2 separate regions of the Homo sapiens genome follow, and region 1 is linked to region 2. The links are contacts of gene promoters, found by promoter capture Hi-C in blood cells and fetal thymus (Javierre and others, 2016). All regions are on one chromosome and are shown on one strand. Each heading gives the region's core, a stretch centred on a gene start or on the middle of the fragment in contact. The rest is flanking DNA. Distances are from core to core; before and after follow the strand shown.

Evidence for each region. Contacts are between HindIII fragments. The CHiCAGO score rates a contact against its expected background, and 5 or more counts as called.
Region 1: a fragment that was not itself captured here is called in contact with the fragment with the promoter of CD34 in region 2 in 3 of 17 cell types (M1 macrophages, naive B cells and megakaryocytes); the score reaches 5.2 in M1 macrophages.

What each region holds. Positions count from the first base shown.
Region 1 is chr1:207,947,841-207,953,591 of GRCh38, reverse strand. No RefSeq gene overlaps it. Among named protein-coding and RNA genes, the nearest start is that of LINC02767, 8.3 kb to the left of the region's middle. The HindIII fragment of the contact is 4,934 bases long and covers 1-4,575 here.
Region 2 is chr1:207,907,146-207,913,356 of GRCh38, reverse strand. CD34 (CD34 molecule) reads left to right here and starts at 2,232. Exons shown (of 8, transcript NM_001025109.2): 1 at 2,232-2,355. The coding sequence starts at 2,277. LOC107985253 (a long non-coding RNA gene) reads right to left here and starts at 2,989. Exons shown (of 4, transcript XR_001738424.2): 1 at 2,800-2,989; 2 at 2,519-2,702. The HindIII fragment of the contact is 7,449 bases long and covers 1-4,724 here.

The DNA of each region.
Region 1 (5,751 bases), core at 859-3,358, 40 kb before region 2:
ATAATAATGTTTACTTACTGTATTTAAGTCAGACTCAAGTCAGATAATGTATTTCAATGTGCTTTATAAAATAGACACCTGTATATATTAATAAATAAATGTGAGCTACTATTTTTATTCAGACAGAATAACCAGCAAGATGCTCAGGGCAGCAGGTGAGCCAGAGGCAGTGAAAGTCCCAGTTTGAAAACCTAGAAACCCGACAGAGAGGAAAAAATTAGTAAGTAGAGCCCCTTAGAGAAGGCAATGGGGAATAGCTGCAAGGGCTAGTTCTCCTCTTGAGTGTGCTTTCATTATGCAAGTAAAAATGAAAAAGCAGACTGAGAAACATGCTAGACTAATTCTCAGCCTCATCAAGAATAGAGTTTAAAATCCTAAGCAGAAAAAAAGTAATATGACCCCCCAAATGGCCAATTAAATTGCTTAGAGAGCAAAAGAAAAAAGGAAGCCACAACAGAATACATTATGTAATAAGGACATTACACAAAACGAATGAATGGAATCAAACACCCATAAAGCAGAGGAGAAGCAGAAGTCTTGCAGGAGATGTTATCAATGGCTCAAGATTAAATGTGCTTGTGCTTAAACAATGGTGTGTGAAACGTCTTAAACAGGAAAGGAATCCTTGGAAAGAAAGGCTGTCATCACTATGAAGCAGCATTTGAAAATTCAATCTATAAAATAACAAAGAAAATTAGACAAGAGGTGAATGATAAGCACACCCAAGGAGGACAAAAAGATGTAAAAGTCAGATGAGTTCTCCCAACTACCAACAGCATTCCAATTAAGAGGATGTTTACTGAGCATCAGATTACAGTAGCTATACAGAGAAATACTTTGGAGAAAATTCAAAAAAGAGAAAACCAGCACCAACACCCAATAACAACAAAGTGTTTTGTTTCCTGCGTCTTCCATCATTCACTGACAATGAAGGTGCATTTTAAAAATGTGAACCCAGGTAATATGAAAAAAAAAAACCCACAAATAAAAAAAGTAAAATGCCAAATATAGTTAAAGAACTAATTAAACATTTTCACAAGTACACAACGTTTTGTACTCCATCTACAGATGGACAAAACTAAGAACCATTTCCAACATGAGCAGATCCACGTTTAGGGTCTTCAGTTAACTTGACAATAGGGACAGGCTTGAGTACAAAGCTCTGCTCCTCCATTTGCCATTTGGGAGATGCTGGGCATGTTATCTAGCCTCTCTGAGCTTCAGTTTCTTGATCTATAAAACTAAGATAATGAACACACCATAGGCTTTTGGAGAGGATTAAATAGGATAATGTATATTAAATGGCTACCATATATAGTCAAAGCTCAAAAAATGATAATTAATTTAAAAATTAATTATCTCCCCAGTTGTATAGTAAAGGAGCTAACAAAATTCTCTCCAGGATTCTTTCCATCTTTAAAGTTTTGTGGTTTTGCCAATATTCAGTTTGGTGATTCCTCAAAAAGCTACACACAGAATCGCCATATAACCCAGCAATTCCACTCCTAGGCAGTTACGCAAAAGACTTGAAAGCAGGGACTCAAGCAGATATGTGTACACCAGTGTTCATTACAGCATTATTTACAATAGCCAAAATGTGGAAAATACCCGTGTCCATCAACAGATGAGTGAATAAACAAAATGTGGTATGTGCATACAATGAAGTCTGTTTCAGACATAAAGGAAGTTCTGATACATGCTACCACACGAATAAACCTTAATGACATTGTTCCAGGCAAAGAAGCCAAACACAGAAGGATAAATATTGTGCAATTCCATTTACATGAGATATCTAGAGTAGGCAAATTCATAGAGACAGAAAGTAGAGTTTACCATGAGCTAGGGAAGGAAGAATAGGGAGTTATTGCTTAATGGGTACCAAGTTTCTGTTTGGGCTGATGGAAAAGTTTTGGAGACATATAGTGGCGATAGCTGCACAACAGTATGAATGTCATTAATGCCACTAAATTTTGCACTTAAAAATTGTTAAATGGCATATTTAATGTTCTACACATATAAAACATGTGGTTATATTTATAAAACCACAAAAAAATCATGTAGTTCTATCTCAGACTCTTTCCCTGCAATATAACATCCAAATTAAAGAAATGAACGCTACTTGCATTTTTATATTTCCTGCAGTGATTAACGTGAGCTCTAGGATCAGTTTGCTTGGGTTCAGATCTTCCCTCTATCACTTACTACCATGTCACCTGGGGCAAGGTACTCAAAGTTTTTGAGCCTAGTTGCCTCATCTGTAAGATGGATATAATAATACCTACAACACAGAGTTGTCAAGAAGAAGCTGTAAAATGCTTACATTGTGTCTGGTACAAAGCAAGTGCTTACAAAAGACAGGTAGGTATTGTTATCCCTTGATAAGCATGCTCAAGTGGTAGTGGAAGGTAGAGGGAGTCAGACAGTAGAGTGCCAAATGATGCTGGGGCCAAATTTCCTATCACCCTTGACTCTGAGTTCCTAAGATGCTCCCACTGACATGATCCAAAGGTCTTGATGCTCTGACTCTAGCCCCAGATGATCATAAGACAACAAAGTACTCGAAGCTCTACCCAAGCCCACACCATCCCTCCAACTTAAGGGAGAGATATGGATCTAATCCTTTAGTAAACAGCACACACTGCTCTTAGAATCAAGTCCAAACAGTTGAATAAGGCAAGGTGCTTTACGATCTTGCCTGTTTACTTCTTTCATCCAAACTATCACTACACCTCACTTCACCCTTTATGCTCCAACCTTGCTGACTGCTTACAGCTCTGCCTGGAAGGCTCCTACCTCACCACTTCACCTGACCATCCCTTCTCCATCCTTTGGGTCTTCACTTGGACATCACCTCTTCCAGGCAGGTTTCTCTGACTTACCTGAGCTGAGTTAGATGCTCCTATGTGCTTGCATAATGCTCTGTCTTCTATTCCCCATCATTGCATACTGGTGTTACTGCCCATTTTCATGTGTCTCTCCAATAAGACTATAAGCAACTTGCACTATTAGCCATTTCATCCCCAGTATCTAGCCTGCAGTGCCTGGCTCATATAAACACCTGTTAGTTGAGTATGAATGAACCTGAATGGATGGAAGAATAGATGGATGGATAACCTGGTATTGGTTCTATAAATTGGATCAGGTTTTGAGATGGCAGTGTCAGCTCTTTTGCCTCCTTCAGACCTTTATCAGACTGTTAGGGAACTCTTGATATTGTGTCAATATTAATAGGGAATAGTAACGGACGGCATAGGTCCCAAACAAGGAAGGCAGGGTGTCTGTTAATTTTTTAGGACCTTTGCTGAACCCAACCATCCACTTTCAAATAGATTTATATACAAGTTTCCTTACCCTCTACCATCCAAACCTACCTGGTTCTTACCTTTCCTACTGCTGCTGATTACGGCATCACCCGAGCTGCTGAATTTTAAAATCCCTGTCCTTTTTGTTTCTTTCCGTAGCCCCCAATCATTATGGTCCCTCAGTCCAGTAATTTGACTTCCTATCTACACCCACTTTTCTATTCCTACTGCTACTACTACAAAGTGCTTTGTATAGAAACAAAGCTCTATTAAAGAATACATTTCCTCCACATTGTGAAATCATCAAGGGCACCTGGTAACATAACATCATTTAATACATAATACAGACCCAGGCTAGCCTCCTGTTTCTTTAGCAACTCTACAAACCAGCAATGTTAGACTAGTCAGATTCTCATAGCAGATACAGAACCAACTTTAAATGGCCTTGCATGGGGCATTGACCTAGCACTGCTTCTTTTTAAATCTTTCTAGTACTAAGAAAACTAATTTTGCTGGTGCATGTGTCTCTGCCATAGGAAACAGGAAGGCCAGCCTTTCTCCTTTGAACCAGGAGCATTGTTTTATTGTCTTTGTCAAGAGAGGTCTTAAGGAGCAATTGAATTTGTAGTTCAGCTATTGCCAGAAGGAACATTAATAATGTTAATTATGCCATAATTAAATCATAGAAACAAGTAATCATTCACCCACATTTAAAAGGGCAGTTTCAGACAATCTTCTGCAACTAGTTAAATTGAATTATTCTGCTATTTAAGTTACTTTTTCACCCTTTTACTTATTTGTGGCATCTAATAGATGCCTTCTTCAGAAAAACACCAACAGAACAATAGAGAAGTTCTCTTTGAGAAGGTGTACACAGGTGGGAACATCAAACCCAATGACTTGTCAGACTAAAGTCACATTTTCCCAAGTAGTTTGGACTAGAATTCTTAGGCCTCTCTGGGTATCAGTATTGTGCTCTGGGAAGAACAGTGGCATTGAAGTCAGGCTGCTTGCATAGGACCTTTAACTTTCTAATTTTCTAAGCCTCTGTTATCTCATCTGAAAAATGTGGATAATATTTTCAAACAGTGCCTAGCATATAATTAAACTATTATTCCTACTTCACCCTGCTAGGGATGTTTTATATAGATACATATCACATGGGTGTAGGACCTGAAGTGGTCAGTCTGTCTGGTCAGGATTACAAGTTGAGGTCTTAACATTCCAACACACAATGACATATTTATTTCTTTGCTATCTTACATCTAAAGCTTACAGCTCTCATAAACACCGGAAAAATCTGTATTGTTTAGAGGATTTGCTCATTATTTACAGGTATTTAGCATGCGACCAGTGATTGTTAAAGAATCTGGTATTTGAGAGAATTGCACATAAATTACCCATCAGAGAATCTCCAAGTTCTAATCATGATTTTAGGTCTTAAAAAAAAACACAGCATTATGTTTTTACAGCCTTAGAGAGACGATTTAACAAGTATCAAGTTAGTATGTAAGGGCATCTGCTCTTATTTAAGAACAATATGACAACCAAGTATCTGAATGACTCTTCTGTGTCTCATAAAAACCTGGGTTAAATATTTTCCATGTTGTTGTTGAATTCCCTTTATTAAAGCCTCATGCAATCAATTCCTACTTAAGTTGTCTGCAGCTGAATTTTATCCATCTTATTGTCAGGAAACAAAAACTATGCAATCCAACATGTTTAGTTTTTGCTTTGGCTGCCAGAAAGCTTACAGTCAGTTTATTGCCCACGTGTGCCAATCAGTTTGATTTCAGCGCCTCATTGCCACTCTCTCTTGTTCCTTCAGATGTAGTCTGCAGAACTTTACTGTTAATTATCTTATCTTGCCCTATGTCTTAATCTTGAGTCCTTTCTAAAGTAGGAGACAGGACAATTTTTAAACCTCAATTGAAGAAAGTTAAATTAATTAAACAATAGCAACAACAACAAAAATATTGGATCAGCATTATAAGCAAACGTAAGTAAAGCACTGTATAGATATTTAAGATTTCTTTTCAGAAAGGCTTAAAAGTAAAAATAATAATAATAATAGGGATTTTGTTTGTTTGTTTTCAGATAGAGTCTCACTCTGTTGTCCAGGCTGGAGCACAGTGCCACGATCACTGTCCACTGCAGCCGTGACCTCCCAGGCTCAAGTGATCCTCCCTCCTCAGCCTCCCGAGTAGCTGGGGCTACCAGTGCATGCCACCACGCCCTACTAATTTTTGTAATTTTTGTAGAGACAGGGTTTCGCCATGTTGCCCAGGCTGGTCTCGAACTCCTGGGCTCAAGCGTTCCACCCACCTCGGCCTCCCAAAATGCTAGGATTATAGGCATGAGCCTAGCATATAATTAAACTATTATTCCTACTTCACCAAGCTAGGGATATTTTATATAGATACATGTCACACATGTGTGTAAGAGCAAA
Region 2 (6,211 bases), core at 983-3,482:
AGGGTGTGTGTGCTTGGGGTGATGAGTCTCAGTGACCCTGGAAAATATGAAGAGTGGCCAATCACTGTCTAGCTTTGTAGTTCTGGGGCTATCCATAACCTTTGCAAGCCAGAGAAGAAACAGCTCTGGTCTCTCAGAGGAAGGGATTTGCCAGCCTCCCATATCCCCTACTTCTATTTTTCCTCCCTGAAGCCTGACATCCACTTCGCCCTTGCTCCTTGTACCCAGCAAGTGTTCTTTCTATACCAGGGCTTCTTGAACCTCAGTGTGCATGAGTCATGGAGAATACTTACTCAAAGTACAGATTCTGGCCCTCACCCTTGATTCTGTGTAGACCATGCTTTGAGAAAACTCTGCTCCACAGAATCATTCTCTCTCTCTTTGCTCCCAAAGCTAGTTAAGAAGTTCAGGTACTAAAGAAAGACAAGTTATTTCCCCTGTTTCCCGTGGTCCAGCTATGGGAGACAAATGGTATTTAAAGTAACCAGAAAAAAAAAATCTGGAAATGGAAGTTAAAGTGGACCAAATTAGCTTTCATATCTAGCAGGGATTACAACCCCACATTTGTTCTCAACTGCACACTGGATGCCTGAAGCAGACCGAGCGGTCCCTGGAGCTGAGGAAGTTGAGGGGAGTGGGGGGCCTGGCAGTGTTGGAACTAACTCCTTTTCCCTGTTAATTGGGAGTCCCAAGGACCAATGACTGATTTTAAAATGCATGTTTGCCACTCCTTCTGTCCCCAGGCCCTTGCCATCACTATGTGATCAGTTCTGAATCATCATTTGTACTTTGAAACAGATTCATACCATTCCGTTGTATTCAATCAAATTAGCATATCAGGCCTTTGCTCTTATTGTGTGATGAAAGACTTTGTTCCCTGTTTAAAGGAATGCTAGGCAACAAGACCAGAATAAGGAGATTTTGGGTTTGTTTTTAGACCTGGATCCTTCTCCTGTGCAACCCCAACGCATAGTAGGTTTGAGATGGACTATAAAGGTAAAGCTACTTTTATAATGCTAGAGTGTCTGCGGAGAAATCAGAAAGGACCACAGAGTGCTGGTCTGGCTTCTCTTTTTTCCCTTTAGGCTATGTGGTACAGACATCATGGAAGAGCCTGAACTGAGTATTTATAATTTCATGATTCTGCTCTGGATATCAGAGCAGCCTCTCCCAGGTTATACCTTATCTGATCCTCCCCTGGTGCCATCATCTGCCCAGGCTGGCTTCTCCTTTCTCCCGTCTCTACGTCCCCAAGACTAGGCTGCCTACCCGGCTCAGAGTTTCTTCTATTCAGTACAACCAACACCCAGAGGAACTGGTGAGGAACAGGAAGCTCAAGGATCTATCAAGTGGTGGAGGATGGAGTCACAGAAAGTCCTTTTTCTGATGGGAGAGCAAGGTGAAATCCCTAGTGGCTTAGACCCAGGGCTGGAGAGGGGATAACTGGTGAGAAGGCATCCAGGGAAGTCCTTTTTCTTTAGGATGATGGTGATGGGGAACTAAATGGGGAAATATGGAAGGTCACAGGAAAAGTTAACACAAGTTAGCAAAAAGTTAACATAACACAAAAAGGTCTTGCAGGAAAAAAAAAAGAAAAGAAAAGAAAGAAAAAGTCTCCAAGAATGGTTTGGACAGCCAAAATGAATACTTATAGTCACGTATACCTGCTCACTCCTGACGCTTCACTCACACACAGCACAGGATCTGGTGAGGCTATCACTAAATGTGCCACATTGTGGTTAAGTTTTACCTGATTAACGAAATGCTCACACTTCTAAACTGAGGTCCTTACAGTAGATTCCTTTTGCAAGATTGTTACTGGCTTACAACTTAAAAATAAAGGAAAATCACAAGGAAAGAAAAGTGGGGAAAAAATCGGAGGAAACTTGCCCCTGCCCTGGCCACCGGCAAGGCTGCCACAAAGGGGTTAAAAGTTAAGTGGAAGTGGAGCTTGAAGAAGTGGGATGGGGCCTCTCCAGAAAGCTGAACGAGGCATCTGGAGCCCGAACAAACCTCCACCTTTTTTGGCCTCGACGGCGGCAACCCAGCCTCCCTCCTAACGCCCTCCGCCTTTGGGACCAACCAGGGGAGCTCAAGTTAGTAGCAGCCAAGGAGAGGCGCTGCCTTGCCAAGACTAAAAAGGGAGGGGAGAAGAGAGGAAAAAAGCAAGAATCCCCCACCCCTCTCCCGGGCGGAGGGGGCGGGAAGAGCGCGTCCTGGCCAAGCCGAGTAGTGTCTTCCACTCGGTGCGTCTCTCTAGGAGCCGCGCGGGAAGGATGCTGGTCCGCAGGGGCGCGCGCGCAGGGCCCAGGATGCCGCGGGGCTGGACCGCGCTTTGCTTGCTGAGTTTGCTGCGTGAGTACCGCCCGCGCGCCGCGGCCGCTTGGCTTCGCCGCGGGGAGGGTGGAGGCTTTCTGGGAGGCTGAACAGCAGAGCAGAGTCTCACGGAGGGAAGGGACCCCTGCCCAACCCACGCACTGCCGCCCACAGCTGCTTCCCCCCGGGGCCAGCGCCTCACCTGGGAGCTGACGGGGGTGGGAGGGGAAGGGAAGGCCATCACCCCCGCGAGTGTGCGTTAGCCGAGGTGTGAATCGGTCAGCACGACTGGTTCCAATGGACTGAGATAAAGCGCTTTGGAGATGCCAGGGTCTCTTCTGGTTGCCAGAGGCGCGGAGTGCGAAGTTGCAGCCAGAACCGGGAGACTGGGGAGGAGAGAAGCAGGAAAAGTTTTGTGGCTCTTGGTTGATTCAGAAAGTATAGACACGGAGCGGATTGCTGGGAAGGGGCCGGTGTGCCCACCTTGCACAGGGACTGGGAGAGCCAGAAGTGGACATTAAGGAATTCGAGGGAAGCGAATCAGGGATGAGGCTCCAGGTCCCAGGCCAGGGGTGTTCGGAATGAACAGTCCGTGAAAAGGAAAAACAAAACCAAACAACCAACCAAACAAAAACCTTGCATTTAAGATTGGGAAGCTGAGTTTGAATTCCCACTTCAGCAACCCCACCGCGGAGGAGGTAGAAGTAGACAGAATTTGCTCTGCGCCCAGCCTCGCTCGCCTTACCAAAAACCGTCACCCCTGCACAAATTTCAAAACTTGTCACCTTTTGGAGTTTTCTTCCTCTGCCCCTGCTCCAAGTTCTAAAGCTAGTGGATGGGTTAGAACACTGCCCCCACTCACCTACACATATCCTTACTCTTAAGGTCTTGCTCTCACTTCGGTTAAAAAAAAAATAGGCACCCGGTAAATATTTATACTCGATTACTTTCCTTGGGGAATGACATTCTCCACCTCATCTCTTTGCACTTGGAAGGTTTGAAACTTTTGAAACTTTGTACATTGCTCTCCCTTTTGCTTACAGCACTCTAGGGCTCCCAATTCTGTACTCTCACTACATCCTAAGGGCCACCCACTGTGGCCCTGCAGAGTGACCTGGACTAGACCTCTTTGTTCCCAGTCTCCTCTGTTGTCCATCTTTGGGTCCGCCCAGCTGGGGACAGCTGCCCCTGGGCTGGAGGAAGCTCTGAGAGAAGTTTTGGGTTGCCCTGTTTGGCAGTCCTGGATGTGTGCTTTGGGGCAAGGAAAAGCTATCAATGAGGTTTCAAAATTCTAGAGTGGGTGCTAGACTAGGCCCTCATAACAGGAGTGAGTCGGCCGGGCGCAGTGGCTCACGCTTGCAATCCCAGCACTTTGGGAGGCCGAGGCAGGCAGATCATGAGGTCAAGAGATCGAGACCATCCTGGCCAACATGGTGAAACCCCATCTCTACTAAAATTACAAAAATTAGCTGGGCATGGTGGCACACCCCTATAGTCCCAGCTACTCGGGAGGCTGAGGCAGGAGAATCCCTTGAACCCAGGAGGCGGAGGTTGCAGCGAGCCAAGATCCTGGCACTGCACTCCAGCCTGGGAGACAGAGCGAGACTCCTTCTCAAAACAAACAAACAAACAAAAAACAAAAAACAAAAAAACAGGGGTGAGTTGGCCAGTGGTGCAGATTCCAATCAGATGCTCCATTCTCCTTTGGCTACACAGCTTGTGATGACCTGGTCCTCAGCCGAATGAGGTCCACCCTTTTCTTATTTCCTCAGCTGGTAAGTGCCAGTCTCGCCTTGGCCTGCCGAGGTTGGGGTTGGGGGAGCAACACAACCTTGGCAAAACTTTGGACTGATATGCTGAGAATATCCCAGCTTTTGGTGGGGAGGGATGAGGCACAAGGCCCCATTCCCAGCCTTGCCAGACTACTTGAGCCAATTGTAGTTTTATGCCCTTCCCAAGAGCTTTCTAGGGTTTTTGCTTGGATTTGTTTTGTTTTGTTAATACTAGGAGTCATTTTCAGTCCTGGGATACATTGTGGGATAAATGAGATAACTGAGTGTACCTTGAAATGCTACCATAGGGCCATTGCAGAAATGCTATTATTATTGTAAAATTTAGGGTAGAGGGGATTTCTGTGGTTTGTTTTCTCATCATTTACCCCAACAAAGAGCTTGTTTTGGGAAGTTCTTTTTTTCTGTCCCTTTGAGAAGGTGGCATGTGCATAGGCACTGCAACTAACCAGAAGTGGGCTGTCTTTGTTGGAAGTGGGGGAGATCACAGAGCAGAGTCAGGGTAAGGGGCTCAAGGGCCACCAGGCAGCACTGCCAGAGTGCTGGCTGGAGCAGGAAGCCTTTCAGGTAATTAGGGAACCCCTTTGTCAGGCTCAGGGTATCTATTTCCTCCAAGCTTTCCAAGGCCTGTCCCTATCCTCACTCTAACAACACCCCCAGGCCCTCCCCGTCACATTCCTCTTCTTCCTTTGGGTCCTTCGTGCCTGCTGACCCCACACCCATATCCTGTCCAGGGCTACATGTAAGAGGGGAAAAATAAAAGGGAAAAGAATTTTATCAGCTATTTTCCAGAGGGGAGAGGACTCCACCCTTTGAATCTCTGCCATATGGCGACAGAGGAGGAGCAGGCTTGGGGACCTCTGACTAATTCAGTGGTCCCCAGTGCTCCGCACTTGTAGACCCAACCCAGTTGGCACCACCTTTGCAGATGCATGTCTTCAGCAGCATTTCTGTTCGGCTGATAAAACACACAGGGGCCTGGGGCCTCTTTTTCTTATCCCTTTGGCTCCACCTCCTGGGCCTCCTCATTCCCTTGTCCTCATCTCCTTCCTTCGCAATCTTTGTCTCAAAAAGCTTAGGGCAAGAAGTGCCAAACTGCAGCAGATAAACTCAGCTGCAGAGTCCTACGAAAACAAATGAAAATGAGGAACAAATTCCACTTCTTACCGTTGGTCTCATTGCCTGATTTCCTTTAGACCCTGAGCTGGAGGGCCTGGGTTTACTTTCAGGGCTGGATGGTTACCCAACTCCACTCTCAGGTACTTGGGCCTCCCTCTCTCATTGACTTTGGTTGATCTAACTAAATGGCTTGCAGTGTGGAGAATTAAAAATAAGAAGGTATGGAAAAAGAACACAACACCACCCTCCAGAAGAAAATTCTCACAGTCGCCAGGGCTGTGAGAATTCCATATTTTTGTGGGCTTGGACTTCTCTAATGAGAACATTCTCTTCCCTCCTTAGCTAATAAATGAAAACATATTATCTATGACTTTTAGTCCCAGAGCTGGACGTTGTGCTAAGGAGAAAGATGCGTGCATGTTGGAAAGATGGAGAGACAAACAAATAGGGATGCATATAAAGGTGTACTTCTTAGTACCTGTGCTCTTGGAGTCCGTCGGAATGAGTTACTTCCCTTCAGATGCAACGGAAAAGGCCTTTGGGCTTAATTGGGAAGTAGGCTTCTTCTTTATTTGGAAAAATGAAATCAAACTGATACTTCTTAGAGAGGAGTGGCATCCCTAGGCAGCTGATTTAAGAAAATGTCTTAAGAGGTCTTTGAGTGACAAAGCCTAGAACCCCAGACAATCCTGGATGAGCAAAGGTAGGCAGGAGGCTGAATTGCTGAGCATGATAAAATGAAGTGAAGCCTTGTGTTTAGGTGGGCACAAGAGACACAAGGCTGATAGGACTCCAGAGCCCAGGAAGAGCATATAAAGGGTGGAGAGGTGCCTGGAGTCATAGCAGGACAGTGGTGGGTGGAGGATGGAAAAGACCTGGGAGGAAATTTTTTTTTAATACATGGCTTCATTAGCACAGTAATGTCTAATATTTCAGGGTTATGCCATTGTCTCCCCTGGGCTGCCCTGTAATCTCGTTCCATGCCC